7 separate regions of the Homo sapiens genome follow, and all the other regions are linked to region 5. The links are contacts of gene promoters, found by promoter capture Hi-C in blood cells and fetal thymus (Javierre and others, 2016). All regions are on one chromosome and are shown on one strand. Each heading gives the region's core, a stretch centred on a gene start or on the middle of the fragment in contact. The rest is flanking DNA. Distances are from core to core; before and after follow the strand shown. Region 1 overlaps PGM5 (phosphoglucomutase 5). Region 2 overlaps TJP2 (tight junction protein 2). Region 3 holds the start of LOC101927069 (a long non-coding RNA gene). Region 4 has its middle 51 kb from the start of FXN. Region 5 holds the start of PIP5K1B (phosphatidylinositol-4-phosphate 5-kinase type 1 beta). Region 6 overlaps TJP2 (tight junction protein 2). Region 7 overlaps PIP5K1B (phosphatidylinositol-4-phosphate 5-kinase type 1 beta).

Region 1 (3,455 bases), core at 285-2,784, 270 kb after region 5:
TTGAACAATAGGGGAATTATTGTGTACAAGATTCCATCATGGTATAACGGAATAAAATAACTGTTTAAAAAAATATGGTTCATTTAGGCCAGGCGCAGTGGCTCGTGCCTTTAATCCCAGCACTTTGGGAGGTCAAGGCAGGCGGATCACCTGAGGTCAGGAGTTCGATACCAGCCTGGCCAACATGGAGAAACCCCATTTCTACTAAAAATACCAAAAATTAGCCAGGTGTGGTGGCAGGCACCTGTAATCCCAGCTACTCGGGAAGATGAGACAGGAGAATGGCTTGAACCCAGGAGGCAGAGGTTGCAGTGAGCCGAGATTGCACCACTGCCCTCCAGCCTGGGTAACAGAGTGAGATACTGTCTCAAAAAAAAAATGGTACATTTAAATATTCTGACATGGATATTCATGACAAACTGTAAATTGAAAAAAGCAAATTTCAGATTAAAGTGTAAATATAACGTCAATTTTTTTTTTTGTTTAAAACATGGTCAGGCACAATGGCTCACGCCTGTAATCTCACCACTTTCAGAGGCTGAGGTGGGCCGATCACTTGAGACCATGAGTTCAAGATCAGCCTGGCCAACATGGCAAAACCCTGTCTCTACAAAACATACAAAAATTTGCTGGGTGTGGTGGCGCTTGCCTGTGTAATCCAGCTACTTGGGTTGCTGAGACAGGAGAATTGCTGGAACCCAGGAGGCAGAGGTTGCAGTGACCTGAGATGGCACCACTACACTCCAGCCTGGGCAACAGAGCAAGACTTTGTCTCAAAAAAAAAAAATTAAAAAATAAAAACAAATAAATAAAAAACAACATAAAGGTGTGTGTGGGGATGTATGCACATACAATGTCTGAAAAGTCACATACCACTGTTAATAGTGATTCTGTATAGGAAGAGGGATTTTTTTAAAAACAAAAAACAACACAACAAAAAGAACCCCACAAGAATTATAAAACGACCCATTTCCTGAGGCATAAATGCAAGAAAGCCTCCTGGTCTGCAAACATCTCACACTCTGTAAAAATTCCAGGAGTAGATTGGAGGGCTGAGGTTTTGACACTGCATTGATCTTGATCACCCACCCCCATCCCCACCCCTAATACTTTGCTGTGAGAAATGATGTTCTTTCCATCTTACATGAAGTGCTATTCAAACCCAAGTTTCATTGTCCCCAGCAATCCCCTCTCAGACAGCTCCCTCCTTTAGCTACTCCTAGAGAGAAATTCTGGAAAATCTTGGCACAGAGTCCTAATAAATCCCCCATCCTTATAAGATGGAATAGACTCCAACTCTTAAAAGTGTATTTTGCCCTTCTAGCTGTTATAAGATCATTCTAGAAGAAGACTGTGATTTTATCTCCTGAGGTTTCTCTGAGGGCACACTCCATTGCCACAGCCTTCAGAACTGTGGACAGGTTGCCTCTTTTGGAAAGTTCAACAAAGTAAACTAAGAACTTTAATAGCTGCATTAAATCCTGGTGTTCTTTGTAAAAATGCCTTGGTGACAGTAATATTACAAAAAAATATTACTATCTGAGTATTTGCAGCCTCACTCTGAACCCTCAAGGCCTCCACTTCCCAGTAAAGATAATTTTGTCTTTGCCTGATCAGCTTCTCTTCTTTGTCTACCCCAACTTGACTCCTGGGTTCCTGTGATACAGAAACAGGAGAATGCGAAGAAAGAGGTAGGACTAGAAAAACAGAATACAAGAGGCAAAGAAAAGTGGACAGTGTTGGCGAGTAGTGGGAAGGCGGCAGTGGAGAACAAGGGCTCCAGATGGGCTGTGACAGTGAGGAAGTGGAGTTGGGGGAACCTTAGACGATGTGGCTAGGATCTGTAAATTGAATCTCTTTTAATGCGTTCTGAGGACTGCAAGCAAAACTTAGAGTTTCATTTGCTTTTGGTTGTTTCTTTGAATGTTACACTGCCCTGAAACTTGGTGACATAAGGCCCAGGATTTATTCAGGTTATAATATATTCTAGAGGAAAAGGTGGGTATGACACCTGTATGACTGTCTTTAAAGAGACCAAGGCACAAAATTGGTTGCTAAGGACTATTTATTGAGAAAATATAAATAGTTGATGCATGTTATGATGAATACTCTAATTACAAAAGACAGCTGAGATTCAAAGAAAGAACCATGTAACAAAATAAACTTCTAACTAGAAAATTACAATCACTGAAAGTTTTCAAACTCTGTTGTTCTTTTTTATCATAACAGTGACAAGACATGGAAAATTAAAATGCATATACTTAGGGGTATATGATTTCCCTTACTGAGATTTCCCTTACTATGGAAAGTTGAAGCCATTTTTATGCTTGGAAAAAAATGGCTGCAAGCCTCCAAATCAGAAACGGTATCCAGAGAAACCTGATTCCGGAAAAGTTGATGGATGCCTTTAATGTCCTTGGGCCTGGAGAAAATTAGGATGAAATTAGGAAAGAGGAAAATTTGAAAGTCAGTGAGGAAAGTACAAGGATTTACAAAAATACCATTCTAATTTTACTTGAAATTATTTACCTTTTATGTGAATGGTATAATTACAACCAATGATACATCCATAAGTTGAGTTTACTTTAACAGAATAAACATTGTGGAAAGCGAAAGCATGAAATGCACTCATTTCGCTCTCCATGAGACCCAGAGCTGTTTAGGCCCCAAGGCCATAGCTCACGCACATCCACTGCAGGCATAAAAATTTAGAAATAAAATAAAAACAGAAACAATCACTCTACGCTGGACTGAAAAACTCAACCTGCAGAATGATGACAAATATCCCATTGTTAAATTTCAAAACCATAGAGGAGACAAAGGAAACCATGTATTTTTAAAATTATTAATAGTTGAAAGCTATTTCAATTATGTTTATTTTTTCAGAGTATTTCTACATTTCAAATGATATATCCAACAGCAGAATTTTTAAAATTAGGTTTTGCATTTCAAACAAAGCTCAAAGATGTTGAGAAAATAAAGGAAACAAAACCAACCTCAGATACCCAGATACTGTTCCTTCTTCCAGCAACACAAAAACTGAGTCTTATTCAAGATCACTGGCATTCTTCCCTGTGCGACAGAGGACTGTGAGGTTCAAGTCCATACATGGCTGTCATTCAAAGGATGAGCATGGAAGAGTGGCTAAGAAGAAAACTGTTGTAAATCGCATCAGTGGAGATTATCTCTAAGAAGGATTTCCATATAGTGATAGCTGTTAAACTCCAGGATGGAGGCCTGAGAAAATCTGTGGCCTGTTCTCCAGATGTCAGGACAAATAGAAGGAATGCTTCTTAATCCAAGATGCTGCAATTGGTAGGAATCAATGAAAAATTGCAGAGGGGGATATTTGTCACCCCCTATTTCATTCTAAAACATATTTATTTCATTTAGCTTCCAAAAACATTGACAAAGACCATGGTCAGGTGGGGAGTTTCTGTCTTTTGAAGGCTGTA
Region 2 (3,238 bases), core at 105-2,604, 480 kb before region 5:
TCCGTTTCCCACCTATAAAATAGGGTTAACATTTACTCCTAGTTGACTGGGAAAAGTCAGTGAGATCTACACCAAGGGCCTACCACCACATCAGCCCTGTGATCTCCTTCCCCAGCTTTGCTAGAGAAAAGCTAACCAAACGTGGTCTTACAGCAAAACAAACCACACCTTACTTTGTCTCCTGGGCTCCGTCATGGTTAGGCATTCAACAGATCAGAAGTTCCACTTAACACATGGGAACTGAGCTGGAGTGAGCCAGCCCCCAACGCACCCCATAATATTTGTAGAACTCAAGAACACATTCTCAGAGCAGTTCTATAAGCTCCGCTAATGCACATTTTGGACTTCTCAGTCCAATAACACAAAGCCACAGGTTCAGAAGATCTCCATATTTCCTGCAAAGTGCTTTTTTCAGGAGGCAAGGAATACTCTAAGAAAAGGGAGAGAATACACCCCCAGTGTGATAAACGTGTGCTTATCACATTCCAGTCTTTTGAGACTCACCTTCTCCCTTCTCTTCCTTTCACCTTCCCCTATTTACTGAGCAACTACTCTACATCATGCCTACCTAGGAATGCAAAGAACCAGCCCTGCTCTCAAGAGCTCACAATCAACACCCCCTAATGTTAAAACTGACCACCCATCCAACAAGAGGTGGAATCCAGGCCAGTGGGTTTAGACCCTCACTGAAAACACACCGATCTTCTGAAAGGATAAACCCATGCACTGAAGCCTGTATCTAATTGAGGACATTTTTTACAGTTCACTGTTTCCCAGCATTCCTTTTGATTACGCTCGTCTCAGTCAAAAAGCTTATGTTGCTTATGTTGCTGAAAGATAAAGGACTATCCATGTAGCAGACTACACTAACATAGTCAGTATATCTCAAATTGGAACAGACGAAAGAGACAGAGAAACAGAAATGACAGCATCCCAGTTTTGACAACACAAATATAAAGCCAGCCGACTAAGTCTGGTAACAGTCTGGAGTGGTATGTTACAGCTGTTTTTTCAGGACAGTTCATTGCTGTGATATAATCCAATCAGGTCAACATTTATATTTAATCATCCAATCACACTCAAAGACAATTCAGAACAACAATGCAATTGTTATTTGGAGCTTACTACTAAGCCAAATGAGATGTTTTTCCCCCACATAGACATGTGTATGTTCCTTCTGTTCTATTAATAGGCGAGAGAGATTCTTTCAGGCCGTGCATGCTGACTGCAAATATTCTTTCTGTGGTAGTAAAAAGGAGCAAAAATATTGCCAATTTATGTTTCCTGGAAAAGTACATCACAAACATGATACTTAGAAGTTTAGCAATGCCTGAACTAATTTTATTTTTAGCCCAGTCCTGTTTCCCCACATTTCTCAGCAGAAACGCCCACAGAGAAATTTATCTTTAAAAACCAGGTGACTAACAAATTCCTGATTGTGGGGAGGTTCCAGGGACTAAGGAGGAAACTGATGGAATTTCAGCTGCCTCTCTTAACTTTCCCTAACTTTTGTGTAATATTAGTTCACTTGACAATTTATTTCTAAAGAATATTGTCAAATCAAAATACACGAAGCAACACCACGGGTCCCTTCCTCCAGCTGTAACACTACTAGCTGAAATATTTATAGATATTTGGGTCAGAAATACATACATTGATTTAAAACCAAGCATTTTTGCCAAAAGGAGTGAATTAGGTCAATGCCCATAAGAAGCTCCCCTCTGGCTCTATTTTCCAGTCTCCAAACAGTGAAGCCCTTTGTGCATTGTGTATCAGCCACTGTAAACTGTTTGGACATCCATTGTTAGCCCTGGCCGACTAAAAGTCTGGAGAAAAAGAGATAAAACCAAATTCTGTCAATATATTTCTAGCACATTCATTTACTAAGCAAGCTTTACAAACAGCCAGCTCACTTGAACTGCTAAACCAGTGGCTGAAATAGTCACTGGTTATACTTATCTTTCCATTTCGAATATTTGCCTTCCTTATCACTTCAAATTTCTCTGCAAGGAGCCTTCGGAAGTAGTACTACAGAAGTATGCCTAAAACGTTAATCAATACATCTTGACCACTCCATTTCTAGCAAATTACCTTAGGGCAGTAATAGTAGGGTCCCTGGAAAGTAAAATAGGTCTGGGTTATAGGAAAAAGTATTTGAAGGAGGAAAAAATTCACATTCTAAAGTTAAGAAAAACTCGGTTCTTTCCACATGTGACATCATTACAGACAGGCTGTTGCCAACATTGGTTCAAGATTTTTAAATGTCTTAAAACCACTACATTGGCCGGGCGCGGCGGCTCACACCTGTAATCCCAGCACTTTGGGAGGCCAAGGCAGGCGGATCATGAGGTCAGGAGATCGAGGCCATCCTGGCTAACACGGTGAAACCCCATCTCTACTAAAAAATACAAAAAATTAGCCAGGCGCAACCGAGACTCCGTCTCCAAAAAAAGAAAAAAAAAAAAAAAGGACTACATTATAGCTCATGTTTCATAAAATAAACTTATAATAGGACAGACACTTCTGCCAGCTGTTTTGGTAGACTACAGTGTTCCCTCCGCGAGAGATTTGAGGTACAAAATATGATAAAAATCTTCCATCTCATTTATCAGAACACAAAGGAAGCTAAAGACAGGGAAAAAAGTAACCCCATCTATCAGCCAGATTTATATATTACCTTTTATTTTATTAATAATAAAGTGGAATGACTTTAAAAAGAAAACACTCATTAGGTTCCATAAAATTATACATTAAAGCAGCAACTCTTAGAATTAAGTCACCTTTCAGCTCTACATTAACTTACAGACTTGAAAACTAATTTCTCAAGCTTATACCTTTAGAAAAGTACCTAGAATCACAGAGCAATAGATACAGAATCTGGAAGGCCCTTCCAGAAAAACAACACCTTATGTGACACGGAGCTCTTACAGTGGCATCCATGTGACTATAAAGTGAAAAGAATGAACATCCGTTACAGAAATCAGTCTGGGTCGGACACGGTGGCTCACGCCTATAATCCCAGCACTTTGGGAGGCCAAGGCAGGCAGATCACCTGAGGTCAGGAGTTCGAGACCAGCCTGGCCAACATGGTGAAACCCTGCCTCTACTAAAAATACAAAAATTAGCCGGGTGTGGTGGCACCCACCTGTAATCCCAGCTACTCGGGAGGCTGAGGCAGGAGAATTGCTTGAATCCGGGAGGCAGAGGTCGCAGTAAGCTGAGATTGCACCACTGCATT
Region 3 (2,998 bases), core at 259-2,758, 270 kb before region 5:
CACACAAAAGATATAACCACGTGAGGTGATAGATATGTTAATTGGCTTGATGTGGTAATCATTTTACAATGTATCACCTTAAATATATATAATTTTTATTTGTTAAGTATACCTCAATAAAGCTGGGGAAAAACCCTAAAAACCCCCAAAAGTTGAGGAGATATATATTAATAATAAATGTTAAAAAGAAGCCAATAGGCCAGGCGCGGTGGCTCACGCCTGTAATCCCAGCACTTTGGGAGGCCAAGGTGGGTGGATCACAAGGTCAGGAGTTCGAGACCAGCCTGGGGTGAAACCACATCTCTACTAAAAATACAAAAAATTAGCTGGGTGTGGTGGTACACACCTGTAATCCCAGCTACTCGGGAGGCTGAGGCAGGAGAATCGCTTCAACCTGGGAGGCAGAGGTTCCAGTGAGCCGAGACCATGCCACTGTACCCCAGCCTGGACAACAGAGCGAGACTCCGTCTCGAAAAAAAAAAAAAAAAGAAGCCAATAATTATATGATTATGAAATATATAAATGCAAAAAAATACGCCACCAAAATAACATCCAAGACAACAACAACAGCAAACCAAAATAAAAACCTTCACCATCAAAGTAATTTCTCTTTCTTTTTTTGAGACAAAGTCTTGCTCTATCACCCAGGCTGGAGTGCAGTAGCCCAATCTCAGCTCACTGCAACCTCTGCCTCCCGGGTTCAAGCGATGTTTGTGCCTCAGCCTCCCAGGTAGCTGGGATTACAGGCAAGCACCACCACACCTGGCTAATTTTTTATATTTTTAGTAGAGATGGGATTTCCCCAGGTTGGCCAGGCTAGTCTCCAACTCCCAACCTCAGGTGATCTGCTCGCCTTGGCCTCCCAAAGTGCTGGGATTACAGCCGTGAGCCACCATGCTAGGCCCATCAAAGTAATTTCTATTAAGCTTCACAATACTGGATGGCTTCTGCTCTCTAGGACAATGTGTTTTACTGTTCATATGTGGCAGAGTCTAACATTATAATTAGTTCCCTTCCTAGAGCTCATATCCATGGAATTAAGAGAGAATATATTTAGGTAGATCCCAGAGGTGAGGCTTAGGTAGATTTAAAAAATGGCAGTATGGGCCATCCATGAAACATTCCCAGGTAGACAGCACACATTGAAAACAGGGTTGACTGTGTTCTCTAGCTAGAGAAAAGCACCATGAAGGCAACAGGAATTGGGACCTTTTGAATCATAGGGCAGGGGTCCCCAACCCCCAGGCCATAGACTGTTACTGGTCTGTGGCCCGCTAGGAACCAGGCCGCACAGCAGGAGGTGAGTGGTGGGTGAGTGAGCATTACTGCCTAAGCTCTGCCTTAGGCAGTAATCAGTGGTGGCATTAGATTCTCAAAGGAGCATGAACTCCATTGTGAACTGCTCATGAGAGGGATCTAGGTTTTGTGTTTCTCATGAGAATCTAATGCCTGATGATCTGAGGCAGAACAGTTTCATTCTGAAACCATCCCTACTCTGCCGTCCAATCCATGGAAAAATTGTCTTCCACAAAACTGGTCCCTGGTGCCAAAAGGGTTGGGGACCACTGTCATAGGGCACCGATGGCCCCTGTGGCTCAGAGGAGCAGTACAATATGTGAAAGAAGGAGCTACAGCAAGAGGCAGGGTAGTGGGGTTGTGGTAGCAACATGGCACTAAGTAGCTGTGAGTACTGTATTTGGGTAAGACATTGAATTTTCCTGTACTCCACAGTTCCCTTCTCTGTAAAAATCAGGAGTTTGGATTTGATCAGGTCTTGCTAGCTTCCAAAAGTTTTGATTCTTAGCCTTAGTTGGTCTTCTCTAACTAAAGTTTGAGATCAGAGTGGCATACTGGAAATAAAATATGCTGAATTGGAAATGCCTTTTGCTGTGTAAGCTAATGGAACCAATAAAGGTTTAAGACACAGTGAACAGGAAACAATTCCTGGCCTAAGCACTATTATTTCTCTGTACTACACCTCAATGGCATAATTCCCATGGATAGTGGTTTGCTGCCAGATACTCTGCAATCTCTATACTTGCTGCTGTCAGATTCAAACAAACAAAAATTACTCAGAAAAACAAAGCTTTATTCAGAGCCATGTTGTTATGGGTTGAATTGCATCTCCCTAAAATTCATATGTTTAAGTCCTAGCCCCCAGTACCTCAGAATGTGACCCTATTTGGGAATGAGTTTGTTGCAGACATAATTAGTTAAGATGAGGTCATAGTGGAATAGGGTGTGTCCTACTTCGGTATGACTGGTGTTCTTATAAAAAGGGGAAGTTTGGACATAGAGACACAAATACACAAGGAAAGCTCCATGGAAGATAAAGGCAGAGATTTACAAGCCAAGGAATGTCAAAGACGGCCAGCACACCACCAGAAGCTAGCAGAGAGGTATGGAACAGATTCTTCTTCACAACCTCAGAGGGAAAACCCTGCTGATACCTGGATTTCAAACTCCTGGCCTCCAGAACGGTGAGACAAATTTCTGTTGTTTAAGCCATCCAGTTCATGGTACTTTGTAAGGGCAGCTTAGCAAACTAATACTGGTGGTATAAATGCCTGAAGGACAAGCTGGCCTCGGCAAATAGGCTGACTCACTGACTTTCCCTCCATAACACCACCTTGGGAAAAAAGAACTTCTCACTGACATGCATTCATAAATAAACACCTTAACTTTTAGGAAGTTTATATTTTAGGCAACTGAAAAAAAGTACAATTCATATTTCTTGCTAAACACTACATTTTCTGTCTTTAAAAAGTAAGACGTGGCTGGGTGCAGTGGCTCATGCCTGTAATCCCAGCACTTTGGGAGGCTAAGGCAGGTAGATTATTTGAGTCCAGGAGTTTGAGACCAGCCTGGGGAAAATGGCGAAACCCTGTCTCTACAAAAAATATAAACATTAGCTGGGCATGCTGGCACACACCTATAGTCCCAGCCACTTGGGAGGCTGGGGTGGGAGGGCTGCTTGAGTTCACAAGGCTGAGGCTGC
Region 4 (3,472 bases), core at 754-3,253, 380 kb before region 5:
CGGCCTGGGCGACAGAGTGAGACTCCGTCTCAAAAAAAAAAAAAAAAAAAAAAATTAGTCGCCGGGTGCGGTGGCTCATGCCTGTAATCCCAGCACTTTGGAAGGCCGAGGCGGCCGGATCACGAGGTCAGGAGATAGAGACCATCCTGGCTAACATTGTGAAACCCCGTCTCTACTAAAAATACAAAAAAATTAGCCAGTCATGATGGTGGGTACCTGTAGTCCCAGCTACCCAGGAGCCTGAGGCAGGAGAATCACTGGAACCCAGAAGGCAGAGGCTGAAGTGAGCCGAGATCGTGCCACTGCAATCCAGCCTGGGCAACAGAACAAGACTCTGAGAAGAAGAAGGAGAAGGAGAAGGAGAAGAAGAAGAAGAAGGACTCTGCAGGTGGCACACAAAATTAGATGAAAAGAATAAGGGGACCTTAAAGGGGGAAGAAAAAAATGGGAAGTCCAAATGGAGAAAGATTCCTTAGATAATAGCTAGGTGATGTTATGAGGGGTCCTTGAGGGTCTAGAACAGGTCTCTCCTGCCAAGGGGAGAAGCAGGATGGATTGCGGAGAGCTAGTAGGCCAGGAGAGTGCAGTGGTTCTCTTTAAAGAAAAATCTCAGGACCCTTTATATTCTTGAGTTATAGAGGACTCCATAGAGCTTTTGTTTGTGTGTTATATCTATCCTTTTAATCATATTTAAAATTAAAACTGAGAAATTTTGAAAATGTTCATCTGTTCATTAATTTAGAAATAATAGCTGGGTGTGGTGACTCATGCCTGTGGTCCCAGCACTTTGGAAGGCTGAGGCAAGAGGATCACTTGAGCTCAGGAGTTCGAGATCAACCTGGGCAATGTAGCAAAACCCTATCTCTACAAAAAATACAAAAAAAAAAAAAATTAGCCAGGCATGGTTGCATGCACTTGTACTCCCAACTACTCAGGAGGCTGAGATGGAGGATCGCTTGAGCCTGGGAGTGCGAGACTACAGTGAGCCGTGATCATGCCACTGTATTCCAGCCTGGGGGACAGAGTGGGACCTTGTCTCAAAAAAGAAAAGAAAAAAGACATAACAATCATAAACTCACTTGTTTATATGGTTAAAAGAAAACCTTAGACAAATTAAATTTAACCGAGTTTAATTGAACAGTTTGAGAATTGGGCAGCCTCCTCAGCCAGAGTAGGTTCAGAGACTCCAGCACAGCCACGTGGTGGAAGAACATTTATGGACAGAGACAGAAAAGTGGCGTACAGAAAACAGAAGTGAGGTATAGAAACAGCCAGATTGTTTACAGCTCAATATTTGCCTTATTTGAAAGCAGTGTCAAGAGTTGACCTCCTTTGATTGGCCAAAATCCAATGTTTGTCACAAGAGTAGTTCACAGTCTTGTTTACACATCTGGGTAGGCTACAATTCACTAAGTACAGAGAAACCTTTAGGTCAAGCTTAAACTATATAAGGAGGCAGCTTTAGGCTAAATTTGATTTAACAATATTAATGACATATTTATGATAAATAACTATACTTTTGAAACAAAACATATTTGGTGTGAAGAATGGGATCATTGCAGGACTTTTCCTTAGTTCAGCTAAAGAGAAGGTTCTTGTCTATCCCACAGCCACAAAAATTTAGGCTTGCAGATGGTTTAAAGGGTGAGTAAAGCAGGGTTTTATTAAGTGAAAAGGGGAAATAAAGGGATGAGGGGAACAGGGATCCTCTGCAAGGCCAGAGTCTCCTGCTACAGTGCTTCCCACCAGGCTGCTAGAATCCCAGGTTCACATAGGAAGAGGAGGCGCCAGGCTCCTCCCTGCTGCAAACTCCCAAGGCTCCACCCTAGTAGGCAGGCTGGTTGGAGTTTCTCCAGGGACCCCCTCCCACCTGGCTGTCAAATAATTATTTTAGAGTTTTATAAAACTCTGAGAAATAAAAATGAAATCCTAAGTCCCCCAGCTGACTAAACGGATGCACCACCTCTTGGCCAAGGGGACCCCAGAGAAACCTTGAAAACTGAGTTCTTGCCATGATGTGTTGTTATACCCTCTCCATTGCTAAACGCCATTAGGATTTCCTTCCTACAGGTTAAACAGAAACCAGCCCTTTGGAAAGACGAGCTGCACCGCTGATATCAACCAATGGTCTGACACTGCCCCTTCCTTTTGCAGTTTCTGCACAACTAACCAGCATTCCTTCCTGATAACAGACTGCCCACAATGGAGTGGTTCTGGCCAGTTTACAGAGGATGTGCAGTGAGGGTTTCTGTGTCCTCTGTTTCACCTTTTGATATCAGAGGACAGAAAACTCCACCCTCTGATCATGCTAATGCTGCCATTTTTTGCACACGCGTCCCATGGAGAGGCATGAAGCTCAATTGAGCATGTGCATGTTTCTCCTTTCATGAATATTCATGACTGTAGTTTATTGAATATGTATATTTGGCCATCCTATTCAGCATAAATGCCCATCTTATTCTTCTGACCCTCAGTGTCTGTTTTTGGCTTCTGGCCAGAGACTACATTTCTTAGCCTGTCAGAATGGCCACCCTGCAGGCTGCAATCTTTTATGAGAAATGAAGCTTTTCTTTCCAAATTTATGAATCTCAGAATTCTTCAGCTGACAATTGTAATGTTTGGCTTAATAGAAAACAGCTGGATTCTTCTACTTGCCTCTTCATTCCATCTGTTGCAATATGTTGTTTTCATTGGAGTATATGAAGAAAACCCAGCTTAAAGAGTTATGTAGTTGGAAAAAGGAGAACATTACATATCTCTGAAGAGATCTGGGGGACCCAGATGTTCACTTTTTTTTTTTTTTTTTTTTTGAGACAGAATCTTGCTTTGTTACCCAGGCTGGAGTGCAGTGGCATGATCTTGGCTCACTTCAACCTCCACCTCACGGGCTCAAGTGATTCTCCTGCCTCAGCCTCCTGAGTAGCTGGGATTACAGGTGTGCGCCACCACGCCCAGCTAATTTTTGTATTTTTAGTAGAGACGAGGTTTCACCATGTTGGCCAGGCTGGTCTCAAACTCCTGACCTCAAGTGAACCACCCGCCTCAGCCTCCCAAAGTGCTGGGATTACAGGCATGAGTCGCCTCTTCACTTTGAAAGCTGTTGGGATGAAGAAGCTCTTCTCATACTCTAGCAACTCCATATGACATCTGTAATGATGGGTGAAAATGTGTAACTGAAACTTAATGCATAAATAATATTTTATAAATTTGTATTCAGTGAGCTATCAATAAAATGTTTTCTTTTTAAAGTTTTGAATTTATTGTTTATAATTTACCAAATAATAAACATATGTTGTTTAGCAAGTTGTTTTTTTGTTTTTGTTTTTGTTTTTTTTTTTGAGACAGAGTGTTGCTCTGCTGCCCAGGCTGGAGTACAGTGGCACTATCTCAGCTCACTGCAACCTCTGCCTCCCAGATTCAAGCAATTCTCCTGCCTCAGCTTCCTGAGTAGCTGGGACTACAGGCACATGCT
Region 5 (3,063 bases), core at 9-2,508:
TGGGCACCAGACAAGAGAGCTGGGGGTTGGGGGGGATAAGAAATGACAACACGCTCATCTGCATAGATGCCAGATAAGCAGACATTTGTTTTCTTCTGTTCTGGCGACTCCTGGCACCGGCATAGTAAATCAAACCCGGGCATTCTCCCTCCCCAGTGCCCCTACACTCCCAGCCCCTGCCCCAGATGTTGAAGCGTCACGTTGACCAGGCTGGGGGAGAAAGCCTGGGAAACGCAGAAGTCTGTTGCTGCATTTAGACTGGAACCATACCGCACCTGTTCAATCCGGCACCAGCGCCAGAAATGAGCAGAACACCAACTCGCAAGCCCCTCTTGAGATACCAGGGCGCCTAACAAGTTCACCGCTGTTTCGTACCGGGGGAGGGTGGTGGGAGACCTTTCCTTCCGCTGCCAAACTCTGCAGGTTCCCCGGAAAAGGGGAGAGTACTCCTATTTAAGTGAACCCAGAGTGATCTCCGAGTGTCACTGCGGCCCCGGGGATCCGGGTGACGAGCGGGTGGGTGTCCGTTGGGAGCGCGCAGCTGTGGCCCCCGCGGAACGAAGGTCCGCTTCGGTGGCCACGGGCGCCCTCTCCACGTCACCCCCAGCACAACGCAGACAGGCAAAGTGGAAGGGTAGAGAGACCGACGGGTTTCAGCAGAGATGCAGAGCCCCTAAGCGCAAGCCCCTCAGAAGGGTCTAGTGGGAAGGGGCCGGGGACGCACAGGAAACTTACCTCACCCGGGCAGCATTCGGGTGCCTCCGCTACCAAGACCAGTTGCGCCACAGTCTGCAAGTTATCGGGACGTTGTCGCTTCCCCACAGCGAAGGGAGAGCAGTGCAGGCGAGGGGCGGGAGGGGCGGGAGGGGCGGGAGGGCGGAGGGGGCGGCGGGCGGGGCCGGGGCCGGGGGCAACGCTGAGGGCGGGCAGGTGCCGGGGCTGGAGCCGCGGGGCCAAACTCGCTCCGGACGCGCCTTGGCGGGGGCGCGCGGCTACGAGTGTGCAGTGCGCGCGCGCCGCGGCGAGTGTGTGTGTCCCCGCTTTCCCCTTCCTTCCCCGCCGGTCCTCCGGCCAGACGGAGCAGCGAGCGGCCGCCAAAGCCCAGCAGCTCCGAGCGGCTCCACTGCCGGGCGCAGCCTCGCCGCGGCGCGTTCGGGGACCGGGAACCGGGGACCGAGAGGAGCAGCAGCGGCGCCCGCCGGGCTCGGGCGCGGGTTCCCGCTTGGTGCGCGCCGGAGTCGGAGCGAGGCGCAGAGAGAGCCGGCTGCGCGGCGGCTGCCGCGGCTGGGGAGGCTGCAGGCCCCGCCTGCCGGCCGCCCAGGCTCTTCCCCTTTTCTCTCCACCCACTTGCCCCATCCCCGCAAGCCCTGCAGCGAAGGCAGACCGGTTTGCAGCACCTGCCGCAACAGCGGCCGGAGCTTCAGCCGCAGTGGGCTGGGCGTCTCAGCCGGTGTGTGGGGACCGGGCGCCTGTCCCGCCGCCGCTGGCCCAGACTGAGAGCGGGGTTGGGGTGGGCCCCTGGAATTGGCGGGTGCCTCCAAGACTCCAGGGGTTCCCGGCCGTTCTCAGCGTCTTGAAGCCCTGCGAAACAGGGCTGTGGGGATAGGGCGTCCCCTTTCCCCAGGCCACAGAACTCAGCTACGCCTGGTCGCCCGCCTGCTAGACTCTGCCTGAGGCGGCGAAGCCGGCACTTGAGCGCAGGCGCCCCCTTCACGAGGAAGGGACAGGCCAGGATTCCAAGGCGTTGGTTGCTCCCATTCTAAGGACAGCAGGTGTTCCCAGCAAGTAAGACCTACCCAACAGGTAGGGGTAGGCTGGCGAGGAGGTCCTAGGAGAGAGAAGCTGGGGGATGTCATGGGAAAGCGCTGTGACGGGGCTGAGGGCCAATTCCTACTGATAGCGCTTAGTGGGCTGGGGGCACTTGCAACGTCACCTGATGTCAGTCTAGCTGCGAAGAGGGTAGGGGTCAGATCTAAAGGACTCCTTTGGGAAAATGCTATCATGAAAGCTAAAGCTAAATTCACTTAATAGGAACCAAAAGGTAGCGGATCCTTCGCGGCTGAATTGAAGCAAATGGTATTTTTCAGCCTCATCACTTCCTTCCACTTACCCTTCTTTACCAAAAACAACGCCGGTGGAAAACGTGGGATACATTCTGTCTGGGGAATAACAACATTTCATGATCCTTATCTTCAGAGATCTCTGGCTTCCAGTTTCTGTTTGAAGGATACTCCCTTAGTTCTCTGCAAATGAACACCTCTTTTCAGTTTTGTAATCTCTTTGTTTCTCTCACCCCCCACCTTGAGTGAGTCTGCTATGGTTTAATATCAGCCTTGAATCAAGTGCAATAATTTCTTGATAACAGAAGTATCTATTTTTTTTTAGCTTTACTGAGCCATAATTGACAAATAAAACAAATATCTGTTATTCTTCAGCTGTTTTCCCAGCCTGCTTCTTGCAGATGTGGCTGGCCATTACTGAGAGATTTAAGGTATGGTTTGTTTAGAACCCTGTGACTTGGGTCTGGTTTTCTCCTGGCATCCTAGACGCTTCACAGCTCAGAGCAGGAGGAACATACATCTAGTCCAGCCCTCCCGCTTTACAGATGAGGAAACTAAGGTCTCAAGACATTAAGTAACCCAAGGACCAGAACACAGTTTCCCTGACTCTCAATCCCTGAACAATAACTAGCAGAAATATTGTATTAACAAAGTTCAAGATGGGGTGGATAGACCAGTGGTGGAGGACAGAAGAACCGATCAAAGAACCGTTCATCTGACTGGTACGAATCACTGTATAGGGGGCAGCATCATACCGCTGTAACTAGCAGGCTAGTTTGGAATCTGGGAATGGTAATCCCAGTCTCTCCTTTTCCTGCTTCTCAGACTTCAGCTATGAAATCCAGAGTGGAAAATGAATTTGCCTCCCAGGGAGGCGGTGGTAAGTGAAAGTGCAAAGTCAGTTTCTGGTAATGCAGGGGAGATGAAGACAGGTAAAGCCAAACATTGGATCAAAAGTGATCACGCATTACGTATAAATGTCCAAATACATGTATCCATACAC
Region 6 (3,388 bases), core at 326-2,825, 500 kb before region 5:
GAGTCTCGTTCTGTCGCCCAGGCTGGAGTACAGTGGCGTGATCTTCACTCACTGCAACCTCCGCCTCCCAGGTTCAAGCGATTCTCCTGACTCAGTCTCCTGGGTAGCTAGGATTACAGGTGCGCACTACCACGCCCGGCTAATTTTTGTATTTTAGTAGAGATGGGGCTTCACCATGTTGATCAGGCTGGTCTCAAACTCCTGACCTTGTGATCCACCTGCCTCGGCCTCCCAAAGTGCTGGGATTACAGGCATGAGCCACCAAGCCACCCGGACTATGTGTTTATGTTTTAAGAAATTAGAAGAGGGCTGGGTGCAGTGGCTCACGTCTGTATTTCCAGCACTCAGGCTGAAGCGAGAGGATCGCTTGAGCCTAGGAGTTCAAGGGCAGCCTGTGCAACATAGTGAGACCCCATCTCTACAAAAAATTTTTAAAGTTAGCCAGGCATGGTGGCACATGCCATAGTCCCAGCTACTCAGGAGGCTGAGGCGGGGTGATCAGTTGAGTGCAGGAGTTTACGACCAACCTGAGCAACATAGTGAGACCCCATCTGTATATTTAATAAGAAAAAAAAAAAAAAAAAAAAAGAACTCAAAATACCTGAAAAAGGCCAGAAGAAGAGATCTGTGCTACCAGCAATCCTGGGACTGGGTGGTGAATGGGGCCTGGGGTGCCAGGGACGCAAGCAGCCCAAAAGTGCAAGATTTAGATTAAATGAAGGCCCATCAACACAAGGAAATATGTAAACATTCCAAAAGATTATTATCTAAATTATGTAAAACTCCCCAATTACTTAAAGTCTGTTCACTGTGACGACTGTTCTTCAATTTTAAAAAATAAAAGTGAATTTTCAGGTGAAATTTTTGTATCCTACTCATCTTTGTCCCATTATCTGCTACAACAGTGTCTGGCACACAGAGTAGGCACTCAAAGTTTTTTCTTTTTAATACATCTAGAGATGGATACACTATTCATTCATCATTCAATTAATATAACTGAAGCACTGACTGCTGCTACTTTTTTTTTTTTTGGGGGGGGGGGGGGACGGGGTCTCACTCTGTCACCCAGGCTGGAATGCAGGGGTGTGATCTAGGTTCACTGCAACCTCTGCCTCCTGGGTTCAAGTGATTCGCATACCTCAGCCTCCCGAGTAGCTGGGATTACAGTTGTGCGCCACCACACCCAGCTCATTTTTTTGTATTTTTGGTAGAGACACGGTTTCACCATGTTGGCCAGGCTCATCTCAAACTCCTGACCTCAAATGGTCCGCCTGCCTTAGCCTCCCAAAATGCCGGGATTACAGGTGTGAGACACCGTGCCCAGCCTACAAATTTTCTTAAAGAAAGTTTGTATCAAATTCGTGGCTCTCTGCTTCTTTGATAGCATACGTGAGGTGGGTGAACTAAAAACTCAGGTGCTCATGGTCTGACTTTCTAGATGTGCTCTATAGCCATACCTCTCTGGAATTCTGCATGTGTCTAAAACAGCATTTTCCAATATGTGGAAGCACAATAAATTTTCCAATATTTTAATGAAGTTGTACATATTTGTTAAAAAGTTTTTTTGTTTTTTTTTTTTGAGATGGAGTTTTGCTCCAGCCCAGGCTGGAGTGCAATGGCACGATCTGGGCTCACTGCAACCTCCGCCTCCTGGGTTCTAGCGATTCTCCTGCCTCAGCCTCCCGAGTAGTTGGGATTACAGGCATGCGCCACCACACCCAGCTAATTTTTGTATTTTTAGTAGAGACAGGGTTTCACCATGCTGGTCAGGCTGGTCTCAAACTCCCAACCTTAGATGATCCGCCCACCTCGGCCTCCCAAAGCGCTGGGATTACAGGTGTGAGCCACTACGCCCGGCCAAAAAGTTTTCTTAAATGGAAACAGAAAGCAGAAACCGGGTCGGGCGTGATGGTTCACGCCTATAATCCCAACACTTTGGGAGGCCAAGGCAGGTGGATCACTTGGGGCCAGGAGTTCAAGACCAGCCTGGCCAACATGGTGAAACCCTATCTCTACCAAAAACACAAAAAATTAGCCGGGCGTGGTGGCGCATATCTGTAGTCCCAGCTACTTGGGAGGCTGAAGCAAGAGAATCACTTGAACCTGGGAGGTGGAGGTTGCAATGAGCTGAGATTGCGCCACTGCACTCCAGAGTGAGACTCTGTCTCAAAAAAAATAAAGAAAGAAAAGAAAAAGAAAGCAGACACTCAACTGAACTCCTGCAGTAAGTCAGAATTGGTTGCCCTTTTCCATTTCCATAGAACACCTTACTAACTCCTTGCCAACTTCAGTTTTAGATGTGGCCTTAGTAAAACTAAGCCACTACCACCCAGAAATGACCTTATGAGCATGCCCACTTCTCCAAGCTCATCTTCTCAATGCCTTCTTGTACCTTAAAGCTGTCAAATTTCAACAAAGTGAATTAATCTAGAAGTTGTGGTAAAATAAATATATTTGCCAACTCTTCTTTGGATATAGTTATAGCCCCATGAATTAAGGGGGAAAAAAAATTACATGACATCCTCCCCACAAAACTTACTTTAAAATTATCAGGAAAAAAAACTAACTGGGACTATGACAATCATCCCCAGGATTGGGCAATGCTACATACCAAAAAAATGTTGAATATCCCAAGGAGCTGTGCTATTATAGAGAATATTTTTATGAGTACATTACTTTTAAAATACATTTCTATTTTGGAATTTAAAACTATAAACTCTTCAAAGTTTTGGATTTAAATTTGTTTATCATTTAGCCAAATAAATGAGTTCCTGCAAAATTTTATTTTTTAAATGTGGCTCAAGTAGAATGAATCTGGCTTTTGAAATTCACAGCCCTTCAATAATGGGATGCTACCATCTTTAAGTGTCCTGTGATGCCTGCAAGCGTAATTTAAATTAAATTTGTCAGAGAGACGATTAATCTCCTACCACTACCACCACCAATCAGACCTTGCTATTAACTTGCCTGGTGCCTGAAACCAATCAGATTGCGAGGCTTCTTCTTACCTATGGTTAACGGGTAATAAAATTAACTATTAGCTACTTAACATAATATTCAAAGAATATATGCTCTGCTAAGCCAAGTGATAAAGAGAAAATCTTAATTGTAAAGGAAGGGAACTAGAGCAAAAATAAATTTTAGTAGCTCTGTTGAACATTAAAAATACACCATAACTATGTATATTTAGCCTACAGAACTGTGACTTTTTGGGAAGGTCTCACAGAAAACTCTTCACTGTGCACTCATTTGTTCATTTATGCAAAAACATTTATTAAGCATCCACCTTCTGCCAAGCAAGTGGTTTGTGGCACTTCAGAGACATCAGTGAATAAAATCGCCAAAGCCCTTGGGCAGCTTACCAACTAACTACAAGTGTACCCAAAGA
Region 7 (3,132 bases), core at 75-2,574, 290 kb before region 5:
AGGAGAGTCACTAGAATCTGGAAGGTGGAGGTTGCAGTGAGCCAAGATTGCACCACTGCACTTCTGCCTGGGCAACAGAGATATCCTGTCTGAAAAACAAAAAAAAAAAAGAAAAGAAAAAAGAAAAAAAGAAAAAAAGAAAGTAGAAATCAAGCTAGCCTGCAAGCCAAGATTCACTGTAAAGCTAGGACCTAACAGAAAAAAAAAAAGAAAAAAAGCTACTGCAGCCCTGCAAACTGTCATTCAATTGCTAACTCTGAGCCTAATTGAACTGGAAAGCCAGTGTGCCTTTATAACTCCAGCTGGAATTCCCTACGCTAATCCTTAAACAGCAGTTTAATGCTGTTTGTTTTTTAAAAAAATCCTATGGGTGACCTCCTAATCTAGACTGACAGGTTGCCTCATTAATTTGAAGCTTGCGTCACTTTTATTTCAAGAATGGGAATAACTTGTAGATGCTGTGAGACTCGGGCAATGGGAGGTCCATTTTCTCAGCTCTTCCACATGTCTTAGAAATATTATTTGTCAATAACTTAGGGGCCAAGCATTTCTGGAAACAAACAAGGGCCCTAATTTATCCTTTCCAAAATCTCTTCACTTCTCAACAATGTGATCACCTGGCAGAAGGAAAGGGGCTTCTGGTCAAATGCCTTCTACACCAAACGCAGTGTTTGTCTTTTCTCCTTCCTACTCTGCTCTCACTAAAATCTACCAAAAACCCGAGCAGCATCTTTGGTTGGTAGGGGATCGAGTTCTCTCCTGAGAAGGAATAAGAAATGCCACTGTTTCAAATAAACACCCCTTGAAGCAGCGGATACTGGCTCCAACAAGGAATGATTAAAGAGACCCAATATAAGTCATTAACCTCAACGCTGAGGGATTCAAATCCAGAAATGCAGTTTCTTTTGCCAAAAAAGTTCCACTGAATTTTCTAAGACCCCTGTGACCTAATTTAAAGTGTTTTTCTTCTCTTTCTCACGCTTTTTCCATACATAATAGTATGATAAGCTGTTAATTCAATCATTTTCACTTCTCTGCCACCCTTCTTCCCATGATCAAAGAGTATTATTAACTACCCTGAAAACACATTAAATAATCAAGCCGTCCAACAGCTGCCCATCAGAGCGCTAATCTCCAATACTGGCGTGGCTAAAAAACAGCTTAACTGTTTCTTCTCCTTTGCTCACAGCTATTTTTGTATTTCAAACAGCCATTTTGCAGAGAAGCAAAACTGGATGAAAGTACATATTATTGAGAGGATGTTAATATGGAAAGTGTAAGGGCATAACCTTGGGTATGAATAGTAGAAGCAAGGAAGTCACTGTTTTCTGGCAGCCATCTTTCAAACTTCTATATTATTAAAAAAGCAATCCCATTATCTCCCACTTACCCAGCCATTCCCAGCTAGTCATAAAAGGATATTCTCTCCCAATACACTTTTCAGCAGAAATGGCTTTTTGTTGGTTGTTCCTCTTTCCACGAAAACCAAATTGCATTCTACATCAGGCAAAGAAGCCGCCTTAGAAACGGAAATAACAGCCACTGTGACAGCATCCGGTGCCTTAGAATATCTGGGACTATTTACAAAGTAGAATCTTGCTCTATTATGAAGACTGCGTGATTGCCCATTTTAAATCAATACAGCCTGCTCATCTCTGTGTATTCTTTTAAATACCCTAATCTGTGTCATCAACTCAAAATTCAATGAAAAACACATCTTTGGTCACTGGATAAAAATCATCTTAGAAAACACTTCCCTTGATTTGAATATTTGAAAATGAGTCAAATAGCTTGGGACTCTACAGTGTGAAGGTGAATGGCCTTTAAAAAGCCATGCAGAATAACTAGATACATAAAATCTGAACTAAATGTCTCACTAAGGATGATGGAACAATTAGCTGCCTTTTCAACTCACCAATCCTTTTTAATTTCATGTTGAGTTACAGGAAAAAGCAGGAGAGCTAGCCTAATGCACACACACATAATGTGTGGATGGATCCTTAAAAGGATATTTCATATGTTATCTGGTGGGCATACGTCATTTGGGTTTAAACTTATGTATTTTTACACAAAGGTAAATGGTATTATACATTACTGTATAAATAAAAGCACTAGGGGATTAGGCTACAACTACTAATAGAGAAATGCTATCTTAAAGGAGAAGAAGCATTACAAGAGAAACCTGACCACGTTTGGTGACAACACTGTACAGGAAGTCACTAGAGAAGCTTCCAACTGCCCTTCAGATAAAGATGGCTGTGATTCAGAGCACTCAAATTATGTCAAAAGGAAAAAAGAGACAATGCAAAGGCAAGATTGGTTTTCCTTTCTTGTGCTTTTCTTTTCCATTTTCTTTCTTCCTTTTTTTTTTTTTTTTGAGACGGAGTTTTGCTCTTGTTGCCCAGGCTGGAGTGCAATGGCGCAATCTTGGCTCACCGCAACCTCTGCCTCCTGGGTTCAAGCCATTCTCCTGCCTCAGCCTCCTGAGTAGCTGGGATTACAGGCATGCACCACCACGCCTAGCTAATTTTGTAGTTTTAGTAGAGATAGGGTTTCTCCATGTTGGTCAGGCTGGTCTCGAATTCCCGACCTCAGGTGATCTGCCCGCCTCGGCCTCCCAAAGTGCTGGGATTACAGGCATGAGCCACTGTGCCCGGCCTCCATTTGCTTTTTCATATGGAGATGCAAATGAAAATACTGAAGGGAGGGCAATGAGCTGTACCCTTTCTGATCTAGAAGAGCACGCAAAACAAAAAATAAAATTTTCCAGCATGAAAACACATTCTGGAATTACAAGTTAATGGTGCAGGACTTTCTAGATGTACTGCCATAAAATTTAAGTTTAAAGAATGTGAAAGTTTATGGTACAGGAGGTGATTAAACAGCAAAATTTGGAGAAACAACGGTAGATACTTTGGAAACCTTCCTTTTCTCTTTCTTTCTCTCTTTCTTTCTCCCCTCCCCTCCCTTCCCTTCCCTTCCCTTCTTCCCTTCCTTCCTTCCTTTCCTTCTTTTCTTTCTTTTCTTTCAATTTCTTTAGAGACCATGTCTCACTCCATTGCCTAGGCTGGGGTGCAGTGACTAGATCATGGCTCACTGCAACCTCAGACTCCTGGGCCTGAGGGATCCTCC

What was found. The method cuts DNA at HindIII sites, captures the fragments that hold promoters and counts their contacts. A CHiCAGO score of 5 or more calls a contact.
Region 1: a contact is called between a fragment that was not itself captured here and the fragment with the promoter of PIP5K1B in region 5, in 1 of 17 cell types (neutrophils). The highest score is 5.1, in neutrophils.
Region 2: a fragment that was not itself captured here is called in contact with the fragment with the promoter of PIP5K1B in region 5 in 3 of 17 cell types (erythroblasts, megakaryocytes and monocytes); the score reaches 14.2 in erythroblasts.
Region 3: a fragment that was not itself captured here is called in contact with the fragment with the promoter of PIP5K1B in region 5 in 15 of 17 cell types (naive B cells, megakaryocytes, total B cells and 12 more); the score reaches 25.1 in naive B cells.
Region 4: a fragment that was not itself captured here is called in contact with the fragment with the promoter of PIP5K1B in region 5 in 1 of 17 cell types (erythroblasts); the score reaches 5.3 in erythroblasts.
Region 6: a contact is called between a fragment that was not itself captured here and the fragment with the promoter of PIP5K1B in region 5, in 1 of 17 cell types (erythroblasts). The highest score is 5.6, in erythroblasts.
Region 7: a fragment that was not itself captured here is called in contact with the fragment with the promoter of PIP5K1B in region 5 in 16 of 17 cell types (megakaryocytes, erythroblasts, total B cells and 13 more); the score reaches 40.2 in megakaryocytes.

Annotation. Positions count from the first base shown.
Region 1 is chr9:68,429,538-68,432,992 of GRCh38, reverse strand. The region is part of intron 6 of PGM5 (phosphoglucomutase 5); the gene reads right to left. Among named protein-coding and RNA genes, the nearest start is that of PGM5-AS1, 73 kb to the right of the region's middle. The HindIII fragment of the contact is 3,981 bases long and covers 1-3,455 here.
Region 2 is chr9:69,185,112-69,188,349 of GRCh38, reverse strand. The region is part of intron 1 of TJP2 (tight junction protein 2); the gene reads right to left. Among named protein-coding and RNA genes, the nearest start is that of TJP2, 12 kb to the right of the region's middle. The HindIII fragment of the contact is 1,080 bases long and covers 815-1,894 here.
Region 3 is chr9:68,975,146-68,978,143 of GRCh38, reverse strand. All of the region lies in intron 14 of PIP5K1B (phosphatidylinositol-4-phosphate 5-kinase type 1 beta), which reads right to left. It overlaps LOC101927069 (a long non-coding RNA gene), which reads left to right and starts at 2,303. Exons shown (of 3, transcript NR_110647.1): 1 at 2,303-2,480. The HindIII fragment of the contact is 1,160 bases long and covers 929-2,088 here.
Region 4 is chr9:69,084,823-69,088,294 of GRCh38, reverse strand. No RefSeq gene overlaps it. Among named protein-coding and RNA genes, the nearest start is that of FXN, 51 kb to the right of the region's middle. The HindIII fragment of the contact is 1,127 bases long and covers 1,440-2,566 here.
Region 5 is chr9:68,703,435-68,706,497 of GRCh38, reverse strand. PIP5K1B (phosphatidylinositol-4-phosphate 5-kinase type 1 beta) reads right to left here and starts at 1,258. Exons shown (of 16, transcript NM_003558.4): 1 at 736-1,258. RefSeq lists enhancers at 41-130, 819-1,744 and a silencer at 881-1,400. The HindIII fragment of the contact is 6,803 bases long and covers 1-3,063 here.
Region 6 is chr9:69,207,943-69,211,330 of GRCh38, reverse strand. All of the region lies in intron 1 of TJP2 (tight junction protein 2), which reads right to left. Among named protein-coding and RNA genes, the nearest start is that of TJP2, 35 kb to the right of the region's middle. The HindIII fragment of the contact is 7,567 bases long and covers 1-3,388 here.
Region 7 is chr9:68,995,051-68,998,182 of GRCh38, reverse strand. The region is part of intron 15 of PIP5K1B (phosphatidylinositol-4-phosphate 5-kinase type 1 beta); the gene reads right to left. Among named protein-coding and RNA genes, the nearest start is that of PRKACG, 17 kb to the left of the region's middle. The HindIII fragment of the contact is 1,813 bases long and covers 418-2,230 here.